Linked DNA regions of Homo sapiens: region 2 is linked to region 1. The links are contacts of gene promoters, found by promoter capture Hi-C in human tissues and cell types (Jung and others, 2019). All regions are on one chromosome and are shown on one strand. Each heading gives the region's core, a stretch centred on a gene start or on the middle of the fragment in contact. The rest is flanking DNA. Distances are from core to core; before and after follow the strand shown. Region 1 holds the start of GABRG3 (gamma-aminobutyric acid type A receptor subunit gamma3). Region 2 overlaps GABRG3 (gamma-aminobutyric acid type A receptor subunit gamma3).

Region 1 (2,700 bases), core at 11-2,510:
TAAAGAAACTAAACCCAGAATCTCCAGTTGTGTTTACAGCAACAGGATTTAACCCTTTGGGTCCCACTGTCCTTGTATCCTCATGCGCCCTCTTCATCTCTTCTAGAGTGATTCTAAGCTCCCATTAGCCGGTTGGTGTACTGGGAGGAAGGTTGCGGAATTTATGGTGAGATGATTTCTTACATTACCAGGCAGAAGCCTTATTATCCATTTCGACATGCGTGCTTTATGGGGGTGGGAGTGCGTGTGTTCCTCTGTGTGAAAGTGGCTGATGTGGAAGGTGTGTGTGTGTGTTTGCAGGACCTGGGAGGGGAGTCCTCCCAGACAAGCAGGGCTTTCTTCTGCCCACCTGGTTCCAATCCCCCCGCGCCTGCCTCCAATGCATTAGCTCTTTCCAGCCCGGTCTAAACTAGGCAGTTAGAACCACGGTTCCCGGGTTCTTGGAAATTTCAGAGTGATGGAAATGACAGAGAATGTCAGCCAAAGTGTGTGTGTGTGTGAGCCCCTGAAACAGCTGAGGTGGGAATTAGGGGTCGGTAAGGAGCCAGAAATGGCCCCTGCCCCCTGAACCTGGTTCTCAAAACCCCTTAAAACCACCAGATCCTAAAAGCGTCAGGAGACGAGCCCATTAATCTGAGTCCCCACACTCCCGGCTGCAGAGGAAAAAGCAGATGACCGTGTCCAAGGGAGCTGGGACAGGTGAGGTGCAGACCGACTTCCCAGTCCCCTCCCGGCCCGCCGTGCCGCAGCCCAGCCGACGGCTGGCGCGCCAGGGACTCCAGCAGACAGCGCCCCCCGCCGCCCTGTCGCCCAGCTCGGGGCCTCCGGGGATGCGGCCCCCGCGCCACTTACCGCGCGTGCAAGCCCGAGAACAGGCAGAGGAGGAGCAGCAGCTTCGGGGCCATGGTGCCGTGGAGCTCGGGGCGCAGGGTCCGGGGCCTCGGCCGGGCGCGGCTTCCTCCGGCGCGGACCTGGTCTCCGCCGGCCCTCTTTGCCCTGGCTTCCTCCGAGGCTGCTGGCCGCGGCGGGCGGGACAGGTATCTACTCTGGCGCTGGCCGCGCCCCCGCGGGGCGCACACTGGACGCACACGGGACGCCGGGCCACCGCGGCGCGCCGCCCCCACCCGCGCACTAGCGCCGGTCCGCGCAACCGGGCGGCGGGAGCAATGGGCGCCGGGGACCCCCTGGCGCGGCGCCGCCCACCCCGCCTGGAGCCGCGAGCGGGCGCGGGTGCCCAGGCCGGGGCTGTGTGCGCTGTGCTGGGAGGTGGGGGCAGCTGGGCGGCTGTCCCCTGGCAGCGCCTCCGAGGCGGTCCCGGCGGGGAGGAGTTTCCCCAATTACACGCCTGACAACGCGCAGGGCGAGGAAGGCGAGGTTTGAATGGACTCGGAGTTTGAGGCCAGGAAGGGGGCGGAGCTCCGAGGGGGAGGGGAGGCTGGGGATCCCGCAGGGAGCCTGAAGAAAGGTCCCCGGGGTTGGCACCATGAGAGCGAGCCCGCGGTCCGCCTTCCTCCAGCCATTTCTACCCCAGTGCAGGTTTCCTCCAGCGCTCCCTGACCTCCCGTGCCCGCCGTCGCCCGGGGTTGAGACGGTTTGCCAAAAGCAGCCCTTCCATCGCACTCTTCGTGCTAAGTCGGCTGAACTCCTAGGCACTGATAAGATTCTGTGCTTGGAAAGGTGGCTTTCTGCGGGAATATTTGGGAAAAAAGCACCCCAGATTTATGCCTTTCTTACAGAAAAGAGAGACTAACACATAGCAATAAACAGTAGAGGTGGAAAGGCATGTTAAAGGTAGGAGCTAGAAAGATCCTAAGGCAAGAAGCCAAAGACGTTCCGTTTGGTGGAAGCATGAGGTGCGCCTCATTCCATGTATTTTCATATTCCAAAAACCGAAAATGGCATTTACGCTTTCATTTGTCATAATCATTCAGAAAGTTAGTCTTGCACCATGTAAGTATTGCAATCGCAACAGTGTAGTAAATCCACTAGGAATTTTACATTTCTATCACCCCCAAAAAGTTCTTAGAAAATGTTTTATAACTGCTATTCATAGAATTATGTAAGGGTGTGATAACTGTTTCTTTAATATTGTCAAATAGCTTTGTTCGGCCAGGCACAGTGGCCCAAGCCGGTAACCCCGGCACTTTGGGAGTCCGAGGCAGGCGGATCACTTGACCCCAGGAGTTCGAGACCAGCCTAGGCAATGTGCAAAAACCCTGTCTCTACAAAAAATAGTAAAGAATTAGCTGGGCATGGTGGCATGGGCCTGTATTCCTCTGGTGTGTTCCCCCTTGTTTCTGGATAGGCATGAAGTGGAGGGGAGTGCAGTTGTTAATGACAATATTGTTTTTCAACAATGGAGCTGTCATCTCCCTGGCATCACCTTTCTGTCTCTGTGAGGTGCTGAACTCACCCAGCTCCCCGCCTTTCCAGGACTCTTTCTGGCATTCTCATCCTCCTCTGCCCAGCACATCCCTCCTACTTAGGTGCACATGCCCTATAAGGTCCCCTCTTTGATGAAGACTCTGACGCTCCTGCATTCTTCCACTTCCAACACCTGTACCACTCCTTTAGGCTTCAGGGGAATATGAGCCTTTATCATACTCTGCCCTAATCTCTAATTTTCTGTACCAAAATCTGAGCACTTTAAAAATCAGTTAGATGATGATTTATTGTTCCTTCATTGCTTATGTCGTCTCC
Region 2 (2,700 bases), core at 135-2,634, 190 kb before region 1:
TCTCAAGCTTGGAAGAAGAAGACAGAAACACCTTTCACTCTTCCTACAAAATAACAAACCACTCTAAAACCCAAAGAAGAAGATGTTGTCCACATTAGGGCATTTCTTAAATTGATTTTTTAAAAGAGCAAATCAATACTAAAATGGAATTAATGGTGATACTCTATTTGCAATCAGCTGAGATACCATAAGAAAATTTGTTCAAAGAAAAGAAGAATACACTTCTTTTTGTACTTTTCCCCTCTGTTATTTCTGAATATTATCTGAATATTAGTTGAGAAAGTTCACTATCTCATATGGAGATGGATATGGATGCATTTTCCATCCAACTTCCTTCTAAAATAAAAGGTGTGTCTGTCCCTGTTACTACACTCTAATGTGAATCTCATTCTGCAAGCTTCGCATTGCCTAAAGACGTAATCAGAGCCACTGAGAAAGGCTCAGAAGGCTCACTGTGCTGGTTCGCTGCATCCCACCCCATCCCACTGTCTGGTGTCTTGCTCTCCCCTGCTTTGTAGCTTTGCATGTCTTCTTACATCTCTCACTTCTTGGACTTATGCCATGCCCACCCCTACCTAGAAAACAGCCACTCCTCCAATACTGAGGTTGCCTTTTCTTCCTCTAGGGCTAGCAACCACCTCCTCCTTTGCGACAGGTATGACAGGTGCCCCAGACAGGTACCATCTCACTGTCAATAGCATCCTCTGCTGGCCTGATCCTCCTCTCACTGACTGGTGAGCTCCCTAAGGACCAGCAGTTTATATTGGTTTTCACAGGCATGACATGTGCATGGCAGACTTAAATTATTGTGTGAGGAAAGAACTGTAGGAAGAGAGGGGAGACAGAATGCTAGAGCACACATGTTAAAGAGAAAGCAAGCAGAAATGATGCACTTGGGAGATTGAAGAGGAAAGGCAGAAGGAGCTCAGGATGCTAACACTGGAGAAGAACATCTTTGGAGAATGTAAGAGCAATCTTCAAATATTTGAAGGGTTTTAAGGTGGATAAAGCATGACAAGAACTAGAACCTGGATTGACCAGTGAAAGAATGAGGACATTTTCACACAGAATTTTCCAGCATTTCAATTGTCAAAGATGCCCTGACACAGAGGCTTTGTCATGGAGGTCATTGTGTGCTTGGTGGGGATCAGCGCCTGGGCGGAGGTGGAATGCTGGGTTAGGTGACCTCGCCAGCACTGCCCAATGCTGGAAGTCTAATTGTCGGTAAACATACCACCAGTAACAAGGTACTCTGGCATGAAGCCCTACTCCATCTGCCTCATATCAGGCAAAAAGGAAAGAAAATTATCTGGGAGAGGAAACTAAATAGCCCTGAATGGTTGATCTCAAGAACCATCAGTTTTTGGTATGTCAAATTCTAAATTCTATATTTTTTTCAAATTTCACTAGTAAAAATATTCAGAAGCACTTTTGCCATCCTAAATGTCTTGGACAACATTTATATGAATGGTTTGAAAAAAGTTCTTATCCAAGATTGATTACTGATCTGCTTTTGGAACTGGCTTTCTAAACACTTCATGAAGCAACATCGCTTGATACGAGAGACATCACTTTCCACTGAGAGGAGCCCACCTGTATTAATATCACTTCCTTATTTTGTAAAGAACTAACGAATGTGTACAGATTATGATGAGAAGATCCCCTTTCAAAACAGTAGTCAGTGCAATACTTGATACTTAATGTCTAAAATGATTTCACCAATGTGATATTACAGCCACAAAAGGTTCGACGTAAATCTCATCATCATAGAGCTATCAGATATTGCAGAATGCAGGACATTTTACCCGTCTAACAGATAACTGCCCTGGAATCTTCAGGAAAGTAAATGTCATGACAAATACATCAAATTGAATAGGAGGGTGCCAATCTAGATCAAAAGAGCCTGGAGAGACACAACAAGTAAAAATGTCAAGGGTGAAGCTTTGATTCCTGGATCAAACCTGGATCAAAGCTATGAAAGATCTTTCAGCTGCAACTGAGAACCCAGTAGTACTATTTGTCTTGTGTGCTAATACTAACACTAATGTGCTAATACCAATTACAGTAACATTAGGGGTAGTAGTATTTTTGGACTGTAGATTTGATACTAAATGACAACTTTGATTTACCGTATTGTGAGTATGCGGGGGAATGTTTTCATTCTTAGGTGGTACATGTGAAATATTCAGGACTGACATGTAATGTCTGCAACTTATTTTCAAAGGATTGGCAAAAGAGAAGCTGTGTTTGTGTGTGTGTGTGTGTTTGGAGAGACAGTAAATGTGGTAAAGGATAACAATTAATCTAGGTGAAGAGTAAATAGGTGTCTATTATACTATTCTTCAGCTTTTCTTTACATTTGAGCATTTTCCAAGTAAAAGTGGGAAAACAATTTTGGAATGTTTATGTGTGAAACATTCTAATTTATTCTATGTGTAATTACAATAAAATTTGCTTGCGAACATGGACATGGGTCCCTCTGACATTTCCTTCTTCCATCCCCCCGTAACTGAATTGGTCCGCTCCTAAGGTGCAGCTGAGCGACACTGGCACCCCTCACAGGCTCTCACAGCCCCTGCAGGGGAGAGATGCCAAGAAGACCTGCACGTTCCCTGCCACACAGAACTGTTTACTTCATGGAATGGTTAAGACAAGCAAGCCCACTCGCACATGGTAGACAGTGATGCTTACATTAGGAGA

The links. The method cuts DNA at HindIII sites, captures the fragments that hold promoters and counts their contacts. A contact is called where the count stands out against the background at its distance.
Region 2: a fragment that was not itself captured here is called in contact with the fragment with the promoter of GABRG3 in region 1 in 2 of the 25 tissues and cell types used here (dorsolateral prefrontal cortex and small bowel).

The regions. Positions count from the first base shown.
Region 1 is chr15:26,969,741-26,972,440 of GRCh38, reverse strand. It overlaps GABRG3 (gamma-aminobutyric acid type A receptor subunit gamma3), which reads right to left and starts at 1,260. Exons shown (of 10, transcript NM_033223.5): 1 at 853-1,260. The coding sequence starts at 905. The HindIII fragment of the contact is 15,270 bases long and covers 1-2,700 here.
Region 2 is chr15:27,163,780-27,166,479 of GRCh38, reverse strand. All of the region lies in intron 3 of GABRG3 (gamma-aminobutyric acid type A receptor subunit gamma3), which reads right to left. Among named protein-coding and RNA genes, the nearest start is that of GABRG3-AS1, 3.8 kb to the right of the region's middle. The HindIII fragment of the contact is 3,407 bases long and covers 1-2,700 here.